5 separate regions of the Homo sapiens genome follow, and all the other regions are linked to region 3. The links are contacts of gene promoters, found by promoter capture Hi-C in blood cells and fetal thymus (Javierre and others, 2016). All regions are on one chromosome and are shown on one strand. The core of a region is centred on a gene start or on the middle of the fragment in contact, and the rest is flanking DNA. Distances in the headings are between cores, read along the strand shown. Region 1 has its middle 5.3 kb from the start of ANKRD1. Region 2 overlaps RPP30 (ribonuclease P/MRP subunit p30). Region 3 holds the start of PCGF5 (polycomb group ring finger 5). Region 4 has its middle 3.3 kb from the start of XLOC_008559. Region 5 has its middle 15 kb from the start of ANKRD1.

Region 1 (2,700 bases), core at 195-2,694, 290 kb before region 3:
CTCCTGACGTTAGAGGTAGGTGAAGGCTGTAGGTCTCACCTCCACACCTTACAGCAGGTGCCTTGTTACAGTAAATAAGGTATCTCAGTGCAAATTCTGCCACACATATGAACTCACACCAGCCAACAGGCACAAAGGGCCACATGCACTATTCAGTAAACTCATGAAGCCCAGCCCTTTGTCCATTTAGGCCCTTGGACAGTGTCCAGCACAAAAGATTCGCTTGACTAGGCATGGTGGCTCATGCCTGTAACCTCAGCACTTTGCGAGGCCAAGGCAGGAGGATCACTTGACCCTAGGAGTTCGAGACCAGCCTAGACAACATAGCGAGATCCTGGCTCTATGTTTTTTTATTTAAAAAAAAATAAAAGAAAAAGTTTCACTTGAAGCAAATGAAACCACAACCACATTCTGGCAGCATATTTCAGCTAATTTTCTAGTCCACTCAAGGTGATTACAGACTCCTCCACATATGGCCTAACACAAGATAGGATGGAGTCCTAGCACTCACTATAAGCCTAGGACTCCAACTGCATAGAAAAGTGCCTGACACATAGTGGGGCTAAATAAATATTTACCTGAGACCCAGCAGGGCTCATATTCTTTTCTAACCAAACCACATATTTCAAATTCTCCTTTCAATGAGAAATAATTGGTAACATTTCTCATGCTAATTAACCATTAATCTGTCAATACTATCAAAGGTAAAGATAGGTAAAGTACTTGGGATTACCTCCACTGGAGTGGGGGCAGCTCATTAGTGTCTTTCAAATGCTAACTAACCCCAACAGTTGTAATCGCAGAGTCAGGGCTTCTCAGGTGTGAACTAACATTTCTTCAAGCAGTGATTCTCTAAGCTGGGTGCATCTTAGAATCCTCTGTGAAGCTTCTAAAAAAATGCTGATGCCCAGGCTTCAGCTCAGGCACATGAAATCCAAATCTCTGCTCAAAGATCCAAGGAATTGGTATTTTTTAAAGTTTTCCAGTTGATTCTAATTTCCTCCCAGCATTGAGAATACTGCTCGAGGGTGTAGAATTAAATGAATATGTATCTAAATACACGTGTATTTTCTCCAAGTTGTAGTGGACAGTCAAGCTATTGTTATTCTGGTCTCAGAATTTTGATTGTTGAAGACTCTTGCCTATGCTAAGACCATGGGAAACACACACATACAATTTACTCATTTATTTTTTATTTTATTTTATTTTATTTTATTTTATTTTATTTTATTTTATTGTTTTGAGACAGAGGCTTGCTCTGTTGTCCAGGCTGGAGTACGGTGGCACGATCTTGGCTCACTGCAACCTCTGTCTCACGGGTTCAAGCAATTCTCTTGCCTCAGCCTCCTGAGCAGCTGGGACTACAGGTGCATGCCACCATGCCCAGCTAATTTTTGTATTTTTGGTAGAGATGTGGTTTTGCCATGTTGGCCAGGCTGGTCTTGAACTCCTGGCCTCAAGTGATCCTCCCGCCTTGACCTCCCAAAGTGCTGGGATCACAGGCATGAGCCACTGTGCCTGGCCTACTCATTTAATATTTATTTAGCTCTACTTTGTGTCAGGCATTTTTCTAGAGCTGAGATATACTTATGCTCTCAAGAGACACACGACTCTGCCCTCACGGCATTCACACAGTTTTACTGAAGTATTTAACAAAAACTACAGACAATATAACATGCTTCTTCTGCCACAAATCAAGAAGAGTGAGGCGAGACAGTAGTTTTGTGGGTCTGGTGGGGATGGGATGAAGAATCAGGAGGCTTACCTCTAAATCCTGGCTTTGCCCTGTGTTCACTGGAGCAAGTCCTCTCACCTCTTACCATCTCAAATCCTGAAGTTATAAAAGGAGAGCTGAGAACAAAATGATTTCTAGGGCCCTAAAGTTTTACTGAGGTCTCAAAGTCACTGAATCAAAAGGTAGAAATAAACATTCATAACTGCAGCATCACGTGCGGACAGTGAAGTTGATTCTCCAATGCCTCTAAAAGAGGAAACGGTCCATAAAGCTTTCACTAGCCCAGGATATTTCCACTATCTTTAAGACATTCTCCCACTTGATAAACATAAAAATTTCACACTCTCTGTTACATGGATAGAAATTTCAAGAAGATCAACTTGGGGTCAAGATGAAATAAAAGTAGTGGTAATTTTGATTATGCCTCTTCAAACCTTCTAAGACCGCAGAGATTTTTATAAGGCCTCATCCTCTTTCTTCCCCTTCTGAGAATCCCTGCCCAAGCTCTTGCCTAGGCTGACATCTGTCCCCATAGAAAAGGTAGTGATAAGTGTCCAGGAAGGGATCTCAGTGACTTTCTATTACATTCTTATTTCCCCAAATAATGGGTTCTTGTTTAGGCCCCCTACACTGGTTCCCAGAACATTAGGAAGGCAGAGCCTCTAACAATCAACATTCTGGGATTGTGATAAGGACAACTGGCCTGTCTATTACAACCTCAAGAAGAATGGGTGTGAGTGGGAGAATCAGTTAAAATGTGAATGCATAATGGTTCCCCTCCCACCCCTCAACTTTCTCAAAAGCCAAATTTACTTCATGAGATTAAATTTCACTCAATGGACGGTGGGATGATGGAGAGTTTGCGTTGAGATGATTTTTTAAAAGGAAGTTTGATTGTCATAGTAACGCTCTGAAAAGATTTTGATGCAACTTTGGAATTACTTCACACCCAATTACATAGAACA
Region 2 (2,700 bases), core at 58-2,557, 340 kb before region 3:
CTGAGCCTTTGTAGGGTATATAGCTACGTAATATATTTTTAGAGTCTCTGCACTTATAGAGACTTCTCTATAGGAGACTCCACTTATACCTACTACATACCTATAAGTAGAATTGTTGGTGTGTGCATTTAAAATTTTGGTAGCCATTGCTAAAATGCTTTTCAAGACCTTATACTGATTTAAAGACCTTTTGAGTGCCTGTTCATTCATTCTCATGTCAGCAAGGTAGTACCAAACTTTTTTATCTTTGCCAGTATGATCGATAAAAAATGGTGAACAGAGCTGAATTTGTTTCAGCTATCATTCAGAGCTTTTCTTCATCCACTCTTATTAAATTTTCAGTGACTCTTTTATGAGTTGGACAGCTGTGGCAGTTGGGATGGGGCAGATTCTTTATGAGCCAAGTATTTCTGCCAAAACAACATTGCTTCCCAGGCTTACTAAGTTACTATGACTGTCTTAAAGCTAGCCAGCCTCTGATCTCTACTTCCTAAAGCCCTGGGGTTGGAGTAGGAGTGACTGAAGTGGGGATTCTGAAGAAAAAGGGCAAGATACGGTATTCCTGTCATTGCCGAAGGTTGGCACCAATCCTATAGGTCATTTTCTCCACTCTTCCTTACTCTGCCCTTTCCCCTGGTACATGCCACTGATGTTGTTTGTCAGCGTAGCCATCCTGGAAGTTTGAATTTGTCTGTCAAGCCTGTACACACTAGCATTGTCAGTAAGCTTTGTTTTTAATGTAATACATAACAGCCAAATATTTTTATCACTATAAATCAAATAATGGCAAAATCAGAGCCAGGTATGTTTCTTCCAGCAGTGTCTTCTGGCTTGCCCTCTACACTAGTAACCTTTTCCCAGCTTTATTTTTCTTCCCTGATTTTCCATTTATCCTGATTTTCTTATCTGTTTATTTTATCTTGTATGTGGTTTTCATAAACAGTTTCAAATCTCTTTGAGAAGAAAATGCAGAGTATTACTCAACAAGTCATAGCAAAAATTAAAACAACAGAAAGGGAAATTAAAAGTTGAGAAAATGCATTCATTATCATTTGCTTTGTAGTAGCTCTGCTTTAACTATTTATGTAGATTCCTTCTATTAGTATTTGAACAAATGTCATGAGGTGCTGTGTTCATATTTCTTTAGCTACTCAGTAGACTTGATAGGAGCCACAGCCCTGGGACAATTCTTGGCACAGAGTTGCTCAATAAATAGTGTGTGGGATAAATGGACTATGCATACATTCCATTTGGCTTATTTTTTCCTTGGGTTTTAGAATAGTCAGTTTCTTCTTTCTGGGACAGTCTGAAGTAACCTTCCAGAAACTGAGCCTCGCTCTGCAACCCATCCTTATGTAGAAGACCATATGAGTTAGAGAGTCTCCAGGCCCTATCTTTTGAGAAAGTCTGTGGACATATTCCGCTTTTGCTGGATTACAGTTAAACCATTTAAACCAAACCTAAAAGAGTAGCAAAACAGTTGACTTTGTAAAAGGTCAGATGTATTTCAACACAGAACCATCAAAACACCTATGGAGTGAACCATACTTTATATCGAGTTTGACCCTATCTCCCATTCTTACTTGTGCCAATTTTCCTTTTGGCCTTACCTATTTTTTTCTTCTTTACAGATTGCTTGCACACATTTAGATGTGGATTTAGTCTGCATAACTGTAACAGAGAAACTACCATTTTACTTCAAAAGACCTCCTATTAATGTGGTAAGTGTACTTTCCATTCTGTATTTGAATCTTAGAAACTTACATTAGCAAATTGGAAAAGAAGCAGAAGAAATCAGTGTTCTTAGAAGGAAAAACAAAGGCTAGGGAATAGGAGGCAGTTTTAGAAAAGAGAATTTTCGTTTTGAAAGCTGAACAAAGGGAGAAAGAAAGCTTAAAATTAAAAATATCCAGTTAATTATTAAGATGTTTTTAAAAGGCCATAGAACCCAAAATTTATAAAGGATATTTCTTAAGAGGATAGCTAATAATCATGGGTACTTATAACCTGAACATCAATTATTAAGGGAACAGAGCAGTCAAAAAAGAAGAGGAAGGGAAAAAATAAAAAGCAGAGGATCCTTGAGGCACCAGGAAGCTAAAGAGAGTCAAGAGGGAACAGGGCATGGCATCACATAGACGTGGTCTATGCAAAATTAAAATCTGTGTTGAAGCATGCTTATTCACAAAGAGCCCAGAGTTACTTTTATATGAACCTAATAGGATGGCCATGTGTTCAGAAAACTTTTTTGTTTCTCCCTCTGCTATAGAATTTTTCTCATTCCCCTTCTACATAGTTTTCTCTTGTTTTCCCATACCCTTCATCTTCTATCTGTCCATTCCTTCTTCTGTCTTAATTTCCTCCCATTTCCATCATAAGGTAATATTATTTCACACCAGTAACTATTTTAGTAGCAAAAGGTCAGCACAGCTGTTAACTATTTGCTTTGCCAGTCAGATCCTAGGAGGAGTTCAGATGCTATTTTAGAGTAGTGGCTTCCAAAACCCTAGTCTCCTGTTCTCAAAAACTGGTATCCAAGGAGAAAAAAAAGAGTTTAGCAAATACAGTCAAAATTACATATCCAATCCTGTCAGAATCAGAAGATTAATTTTTTTTAAGTTTTTCAAAGGATAATTCCCTTGCTCTTTTGCCTCTGTAGAATCATAACTTTCTCAATTTTAATTCTCTTTGGTGCTAAGG
Region 3 (2,700 bases), core at 63-2,562:
TTTAAAATAGTTTCAGACACAAAATAGGAACATACCAAGTCTTTTTTATATATTGTGGTATATATACAGTAATATCCTCCAATGCATATTTTAAACACACTAGAAGTAGTGTGATTTTTCACATACTGTTCTGTTTAGTCTCTGAAATGAAAGATATGAAGCATAAAGAGTAATCCTACTGCCATGAAGTCATTTGACCTCACTTGTTTTCTCTTACTCATTGTGATTGCTGCGACTTATGAAGTTGATCCCAGCTTGGACATTGGCATGTATGATTTTGGAAAATGGTTCTTTAAAGGACTATACGAATGTGGTCATTTAAAGCTGTTTCAGAAAATGTATTGCTCCTGCTGTGATATTAGAAATGGCAATTTTTAAACATGTCAAAGTTTGATTATAAAATGGATAGTTTAAAAAGCTGCCTTGGTCTACTGCTTGATGCATTTTAAATTTGAAATGGATCTTTGAACACTTGTATGGCTGCTGGACTAGCGGTTGTTAAGTTTGTTGGTTTGCCACTTAGAGTCATCTATCACTTTAGTAAGAAGTTAACGCCTATCAGTTGGAGAAAAAGCAAATATTTTGCATTGACAGTCTCCCCTACCCTCTATTATTGTCATTTTCTTAAGCCATCACTGCTCTGGCTTCTAGAATACACATTTTTGAATGAAGGTTTTTGCAGTGAATGGTCTCTTGTAGATCTCAAAGTCCACTAGAAAGAGTACTGGGTTTTTGTTTGTTTTGAACGTTGCAAACAGTAATGCTTCTTTACCACTCACCCTCCCCCCACCCTCAACCTCCACAACGTTCCCGTTTGCTTATAGTTGTCAACGACCATGATCTCTGGACCCACACTACAGTAACAAGTTTGTCAGTCATTTTCAGATAAGGTGCAAATCAAGGGATGGCTTTGTCCCCACTTCGGCGCAGGTGGGACAGACTTGGGGAAGACGCAGCTGAAGAGACAAATTCTCAGGGTGCGTCAGTCTCATCACTGACCGTTGCTTTTAAACCCTCCAGGGAAAATATGCCAGTCATTGTTATGATGTAAACAACCGAAGGGGTGGACGGTGAGGATAAGAAGAACCGAGATAATATTTGGCCAGAGCTACGTGTAGCACAGGGAGCCAGGGCGGCAGCTGCACCTGCGAGCAGCGCAGGCGGCAGGCGCGGCCTCCGGGCGTGGTGGTGGGCGTGGCCGGGCGGCGGGGGCGTGGCCGGGCGGCGGGGCGGGCGGTGCCGCCGGTTGGAAGTGGGTGGAGTTGCCCTTGGAGGCGGCACCGGACCTGGGCCCCGAGGCCCGCCGCGCCCTGTCGGGCCTGAGCCGAGTGGCCCCACAGAGCCGGCGCGCTCCCGCCTGCAGGGGGAGAGCAGACGGGGCGCGGGGACCGGCCAGGCCGCGGCGGGTGCTGTTTCTGTTTCACTTTCCTTCACTCTGAGGCCGGCGCGCTGGCGGGCGAGGAGCGGCGGCGGTGGCGGCCGCTGGGTAGGTACCGGGCGGGCTGGGGAGCTGCAGGGACGCCAGACTCCTCACCCAAGTTTGCGCCTCAGGCGAGAGCGACACCTCCAGACACCTGCCCTGGCCGGCCCAGCCTGGAGCCGGGAGGGCCCTTCGGGTGCAGGGGGCTACCGACCCGGGCGGGGGCTTCGGAGCTGTGCCTACCTCGGCGGGGAGAGCGGCCGGCTGCGGACGCCGGCCCCGGGAAAGGCTGCTCGCTCTCCCCGGCCTGAGCAGCGCGCCCGCGGGGCCTGGGCCCGCGCACCTGCCGGGCGGGCGCGGCTGTGCTGGGACCCCACAGGGCTGTACCGCTGGGTCCTGCCGGAGAACGCAGAAAAGTTCCCCCTTGCCCCCGCCCCGTCATTGCAAGTTCTTGCTTCCCTTAACTGTCTTGGTCACAGGGCTCTGTGCCTTAGGATCTTAGTACCACCCCAGGTCGGGACCGTGCATTTCCTCTTCCAGAGGACTTTCTCTTACTTTGGAGTTTCATGGCAAACCTGTGGGAAAGGCAAGGCAGTTAATCCCAACTTATAGAGGAGGAAGCCGAGACCCAGGCTCAGATATGAAACGGTTTGCTGAAGGTCATACAGGGGTAAGGGCCAGAACCCTGATTCCCTGTCTTTTAATTATGCTTGCTTTCTGTTACACGCACGAATACGGTTTCCCAAGAGGATAGGATGATTACACGTAGAGCCTATTCCCTGCACATTCGCAGTGGGTATGTGTTGATGGAATGCCTTTTACCTTTCCGGTTGCTTTATATTTACCAATGAGTTAACAGCTAAGATGGGGGAAAGTTCCTGTTTATAGAATGCACTTAGGAAAATCAACACCTTTCATGTTGTGTTTTCTGAGAGGATACATATTTTACAGTTAAAAAAAAAAAAAAACCTGAGACAGGAAAGTAGCATTATCCAGGTTATATATCTACTAAATATGACCAGTTTCTATTGAAGAGTTTTTGGTCTAACAAAGAAGGTAAAGAATGAACGTAACTATAAATCAAAATAAAAGGCAAATGTAATAGGAAAGAAGTAAGCATTAAAAACTAGGGAAAGATTGCACTGAGAATAGCATTGGAGAAGGGCTTGAAGGATAGGTGGCATGCAGACAGAGGAGAGAAAGGGCGTGTTGGATAGAGTGCTTAGAACCTGCAGAGGAGACGGTGGGAGAGGAGTGATCCCTTCAGGTTGAAGAAAGTT
Region 4 (2,700 bases), core at 91-2,590, 280 kb before region 3:
CTCCTGAGTAGCTGGGACTACAGGCATGCGCCACCTTGCCCAGCTAATTTTTGCATTTTTAGTAGAGACGGGGTTTCACCGTGTTGGCCATGATGGTCTCGATTTCTTGACCTTGTGATCTGCCTGCCTTGGCCTCCCAAAGTGCTGGGACTACAGGTGTGAGCCACCGCGACTGGCCGTAAATCTTTTAAACACCGTTTTTTTTTTCAGCTATTAAATAAAGTTAGATTGGTGTTACCGAAAGCCTCCTCTTCCCCCCACCCCCTTTTTTTTTAATTCAACTTTTATTTTAAATTCCAGGTTACATGTGCAGGATAAATCGGTTTGTTACATAGCTAAATGTGTGCCTTGGTGGTTTGCTGCACTGATCACCCCATCACTTAGACATTAAGCCCAACATCCATTAGCTATTCTTCCTGATGCTCTCTCTCCCACCACCTCTGACAGGCCCCAGTGTGTGGTGTTCCCCTCCTTGTGTGCATGTGTTCTCATCGTTCAGCTCCCACTTATAAGTGAGAACATGTGGTGTTTGGTTTTCTTTTCCTGTGTTAGTTTGCTGAGAATAATGGCCTCCAGCTTTATCCATGTCCGTGCAAAGGACATGATCTCATTCCTTTTTATGGCTGCTTAGTATTCCATGATTTATGAGTACCACATTTTCTTTATCCAGTCTATTATTGATGGGCATTTGGGCTGATTCTGTGTCTTTGCTCTTATGAATAGTACTGCAATGAACATATGTGTGCATGTATCTTTATAATAGAATGGTTTATATTCCTTTGAGTATATACCCAGTAATGGGATGGCTGAGTCAAATGGTATTTCTGCTTATAGATCTTTAAGGAATCGCCACACTGTCTTCCACAATGGTTGAACTAATTTACATTCCCACCAAACAGTGTAAAAGCGTTCCTTTTCCTCTGCAGCCTCATCAGCATCTGTTGTTTCTTGACCTTTTAATAATAGCCATTCTGATTGGCATGAGATGGTATCTCATTGTGGTTTTGATTTGCATTTCTCTAATGATCAGTGATGTTGAGCTTTCTTTCCTATTTTTTGGCTGCATGCATGTCTTCTTTTGATATGTGTCTGTTCATGTCCTTTGCCCACTTTTTAATGGAGTTTTTTCTGGTAAATTTGCTTAAGCTCTTTGTAGACTCTGGATATTAGACTTTTGTTAGATGGATAGATTACAAAATTTTTCTTCCATTCTGTATGTTGTCTGTTCACTCTGATGATACTTTATTTTGCTGTGCAGAAGTTCTTTAGTTTAATTAGATCCCATTTGTCAATTTTTGCTTGCGTTGCAATTGCTTCTGACATTTTCATCATGAAATCTTTGCCCATGCCTATGTCCTGAATGGTATTGCCTAGATTTTCTTCTAGGGTTTTTACAGTTTTGGATATTACATTTAAGTTCAACAGCCCCTTTTTAATCCCTAAACATTTTGGTCTTTGACTGTCAGCTTCCACTTATGTTTTCATGTTTGTGTAAGAATGTCAATTAAAATCAAGAATATTATGGTCTGAATTTCTATTTTGGAAAAGTATGAAATGTGAAGATTCTTAATATTTGTAACTAACACGTGTAAAATCTCTCAAATTGACTTTTGGAATAGTTTTATGTGTTAACAGATTTGAATAGTGGCATCTGGGCGATAAACTTCAAATTGTCAATGTGGTAAAACCTTTAGTTGATTTCCAGTTAGAGTTTCAGCTCTTGAAAAATTGCGTTTTTGCTTATGTTTACAATATAATTTTCTAAGGTCACCGTAACAAAGTACCACAAACAGGGTATTTACACAATAGAAATTTGTTTTCTTACAGCCGGGAGGCTAGAAGTCTAAGATCAAGACATTAGCAGGATTGGTTCTTTTTGAGGGCAGTAAGGAAGAATCGTTCTATGCCTTTCTCCTAGTTCCTGGTAGTTTCCTAGCTGTTATGGATCTCTACAAAATTCATTTTTTGAAGTTCTAACCCTCAGAACCTCAGAAGAAGACTTCATTTGGAAAGAAGATCTTTACAGAATTAATCAAGTTAAAATGAGGTCATTACGGTGAACTCTAATCCAGTATGAATTGTGTCCTTATAAGAAAAATAAATCTGGATACAGACTCATACAGAGGAATGATGATGTAAAGACACAAGAAGAAAACAAGCCATCCACAAAACAAATAGAGAGACCTGAAACAGATCTTTCTCCTACAGCCCTCAGAAGGAACAAGCCCCACTGACACCTTGATCTCAGACATCTAGCTTCCAGAGCTGTGAGAAAGTAAATTTCTGTTATTTAAGTACCCAGGCTGTGGCATAGTCAGCCCTCCATATCTGGGGGCTTAACCAACCACAGATCAAAAATATTCAGACAAAAAGTGATGGTTGTGTCTGTACTGAACATGTATAGACTTTTTTTGGTCATTATTCCCTAAACGATATAGTGTAACTACTATTTACATGGCATTTACATTGTACTAGGTATGATAAATAATCTAGAGATGATTTAAAGTATACAGGAGGATATATGTAAATTATATGCAAACACTGAACCATTTCTATAACAGACTTGTGCATCCACGAATTTTGGTATCTGAGGAAGGTCCTAGAACAAATCCCCTCAGAATACCGAGGGACAGCTATACTTTGTTACAGCAGTCCTAGCAAACTAAGAATCTGGCAATCTTTGGCATTCCTCGGCTTGCA
Region 5 (2,700 bases), core at 69-2,568, 310 kb before region 3:
GCTGAGATCGCACCACTGCATTCCAGTCTGGGCGACAGAATGAGACTCTGTCTAAAAAAAAGAAAGTACCAACTATTTTATTATTTATTACTTCATTATATTAATTTAAATATTGAAGTGTCAGCTATCATTTAGGAAAAAACTAAGTCAAATCTCTATCTCACACCCAATACACACCCATAGTAAATCCAGGTAGATTAAAGATTTAAATTTTTTAACAAACTTGTAAAATACTAGAGGAAAATGTAAGTTAATTAAAAAAATAATAATCTTGGATTGCAATAGACCTGCCGAGCATGGTCATCAAAGCCAGAAAACAAAGTTTGATTGATTTGTCTCTACATAACAACAAGTAGGAAAGTACATTTACAATACATATTCCAGGAAGGTTTCATATGCTTAGCTTTTAAGAATTTTTTTTTTTTAAATACCCAACATGACATGCTGTTAGCATCCATAGAGATCCCCATTCCCAGGGTGGTGTACCTATATTGCCAGTGCTTCAGATGTTGGGTACTAATGACTTATCTTCACCCTTTTCCAGAGGATTGTCCTGGGCTGATGAGAGTCACTTTACCTGAAGATACCTGGGAAGTTTTGTCTCCTCTGAGGTTGGCCCATGGCCAGTGACTGATGCAGGACATTACAGCCTGGCCCACTGGCCTCGGTGGTACAATTTATGCTCCTGAGCACCCCATGGGATTACGCTGTGTGTGGATTTCTCCTGAAACCACATATTTGCCTCTTCTGCCCTGTTCTGTTTTTTCTCATTCCCTTATAGAGGACTCTCAGTAAGTCACTTACACAAGAATCCTAATTTGAAATGCTGCTTCCAGGAGACCTGACTTAGAAAATTGGACAAATAAAGTTGATTTTTTTAAATGTCCAGTAACATGAAGATGCTGAACTTTCCTAGTCATTTAGGGGGAAATCACCACAAATATATCTGGCTGATCAGGTTGAAAGTTAAAAGAAAAAAAGATTTATAAAGTGGGTATTTTCAAGATGGTGTGGAGGGAGATACAATTTGATGCAAGTCTTATACTTTTGATGTCAATTTATTCTTCAGAAATAACTGGTTAATTATAAAGGGTGGATGGATAAGGATATTCACTGCAACAATGTCTTAAATGTGAAAATGGAAACAACCTAAATACCCAATAATAACAGGATTAAATAATTCATTGTACATTAAAAGAATACTGTCTATAAAGATGTCTAGAATAAGTTGTTCAGTTGAAGTTGTAAAGCTAAATACACAATACCCATAATGTGCACAGAAATAATCAGAATGTCATGAAACCAGGATTATTGGTGATGTGTTGCTTCCTTTGTTACTCATTTCTGTATTGGCATAATGAGTATTGGGTGTTCAAGAGGAGGGGGAAGGAAGTATGACAGATGTTATGGGGAAAAAGCAAAGTACAACAGGAAGACACCTTGGGGGAACTAATAGAATCTAAGGACTCAAGGATGGCTTCCTGGAGGAAATACAGCTAGAACAAAGGGGAGGAATGAGAAGTGATGTGATGGCGTGGAGTGGGCTGTAGTGGGAAGAAGAGTCTTCCAGGGAGCTGGCACAGTATGTGAAAACAGTAAAGCAAGTGCCTGGATTTTTTAAGGAACTGAAAATTTAGTTGAGTTGAAATTTAGAGTTTGGCTAGGAAGGTTATGAGAGATAAGAATAAAGAGTTAACAGCAGCCAGATTTTAAGGATTTTATAAGACATTTTTAGGAGTTTTTATTTCATCCTGAGAGAAATGTGAAGCCATCGAAGGGTTGAAAGAGGAGAGTGAGTTGATCAGCATTGCATTTTAGAAAAATCCCTCTATCTGCAACTTGAAAAACATTCTGGAGGTAAGCAAGCCTGGAGGCCAGGAGCCTAGGAGGGCTATTTGATCCAGATGAGAAGTAATGGTGACCTGAACTAGGGCAGAGGCACCTAGGATTGGAAAACATGGACAGATCACAGCACTACTTATGTAGTATACTTGGTAAGACCTGGTTGTTTAAAAGAGAAGGATGAGGGAAAGAAGGTCAAAAACAACTTCTAGGACTCTCCATTGGCCAGTGTGGTGTGCCCTTCACTGAAGAGCAAACACAAAATGAAAGATTGTGGGCAAAGAGTTGAGTCAGTGAGAAGGCAAGGAGAGAACCTTATAAAAAAATTGACTATGTGATTAAAAACTTAAAAATTTCCCCCAACGTGTTTATCTTTTCCATTAGCAGAAATAACTAAGAGTTGTCTTAATTCTAATGGGATTTATTCCATATTGTCTCTCATGCCCTCTACCTAGTTATTAGTGCAAATATTTATATGTGGCAACATAAAACTTTTTAACTCTTTATTCTCTTCTCTCGTGTACCCTCCCAGCTCTTTAGGGGAGGTGGATTTGAGGCAGATACCATAAAGAAAAGTTGGTCACATGGTGGTAACACGTTGAAGTTATGCCACATGAGACATCAGCACTGGCAAGAGAAATGTCTGTGTTGTAGATGTTTCACTTGGAAGAAATTGAAGGACCCTGAGCCTTAAAAGTCTGACAAACTTAAGCCAGGACCCCTGTGGGGAAGGTAGAGGGGCCAACAAACAAGATTGGGAGTCAGAGAGATAACAATGAAATCCCCAATGCCTGTGGGAGGTGGACTCCCTGGATTAGTACTAGACAGAAAAGGTACAAAAATATTTCAAACCATTCT

Evidence for each region. The method cuts DNA at HindIII sites, captures the fragments that hold promoters and counts their contacts. A CHiCAGO score of 5 or more calls a contact.
Region 1: a contact is called between a fragment that was not itself captured here and the fragment with the promoter of PCGF5 in region 3, in 1 of 17 cell types (fetal thymus). The highest score is 5.9, in fetal thymus.
Region 2: a fragment that was not itself captured here is called in contact with the fragment with the promoter of PCGF5 in region 3 in 6 of 17 cell types (fetal thymus, M1 macrophages, M2 macrophages and 3 more); the score reaches 12.0 in fetal thymus.
Region 4: a fragment that was not itself captured here is called in contact with the fragment with the promoter of PCGF5 in region 3 in 1 of 17 cell types (fetal thymus); the score reaches 5.1 in fetal thymus.
Region 5: a fragment that was not itself captured here is called in contact with the fragment with the promoter of PCGF5 in region 3 in 1 of 17 cell types (fetal thymus); the score reaches 5.9 in fetal thymus.

What each region holds. Positions count from the first base shown.
Region 1 is chr10:90,925,067-90,927,766 of GRCh38, forward strand. No RefSeq gene overlaps it. Among named protein-coding and RNA genes, the nearest start is that of ANKRD1, 5.3 kb to the left of the region's middle. RefSeq lists an enhancer at 224-1,110. The HindIII fragment of the contact is 1,120 bases long and covers 885-2,004 here.
Region 2 is chr10:90,884,181-90,886,880 of GRCh38, forward strand. RPP30 (ribonuclease P/MRP subunit p30) reads left to right here. Exons shown (of 11, transcript NM_006413.5): 6 at 1,632-1,721. Among named protein-coding and RNA genes, the nearest start is that of RPP30, 14 kb to the left of the region's middle. The HindIII fragment of the contact is 1,166 bases long and covers 725-1,890 here.
Region 3 is chr10:91,219,351-91,222,050 of GRCh38, forward strand. It overlaps PCGF5 (polycomb group ring finger 5), which reads left to right and starts at 1,313. Exons shown (of 10, transcript NM_032373.5): 1 at 1,313-1,486. RefSeq lists an enhancer at 853-922 and silencers at 1,113-1,422, 1,493-1,952, 1,642-1,936. The HindIII fragment of the contact is 12,523 bases long and covers 1-2,700 here.
Region 4 is chr10:90,942,681-90,945,380 of GRCh38, forward strand. No RefSeq gene overlaps it. Among named protein-coding and RNA genes, the nearest start is that of XLOC_008559, 3.3 kb to the right of the region's middle. The HindIII fragment of the contact is 4,169 bases long and covers 1-2,700 here.
Region 5 is chr10:90,904,758-90,907,457 of GRCh38, forward strand. It overlaps a transcript of RPP30 not described here. Among named protein-coding and RNA genes, the nearest start is that of ANKRD1, 15 kb to the right of the region's middle. The HindIII fragment of the contact is 5,535 bases long and covers 1-2,700 here.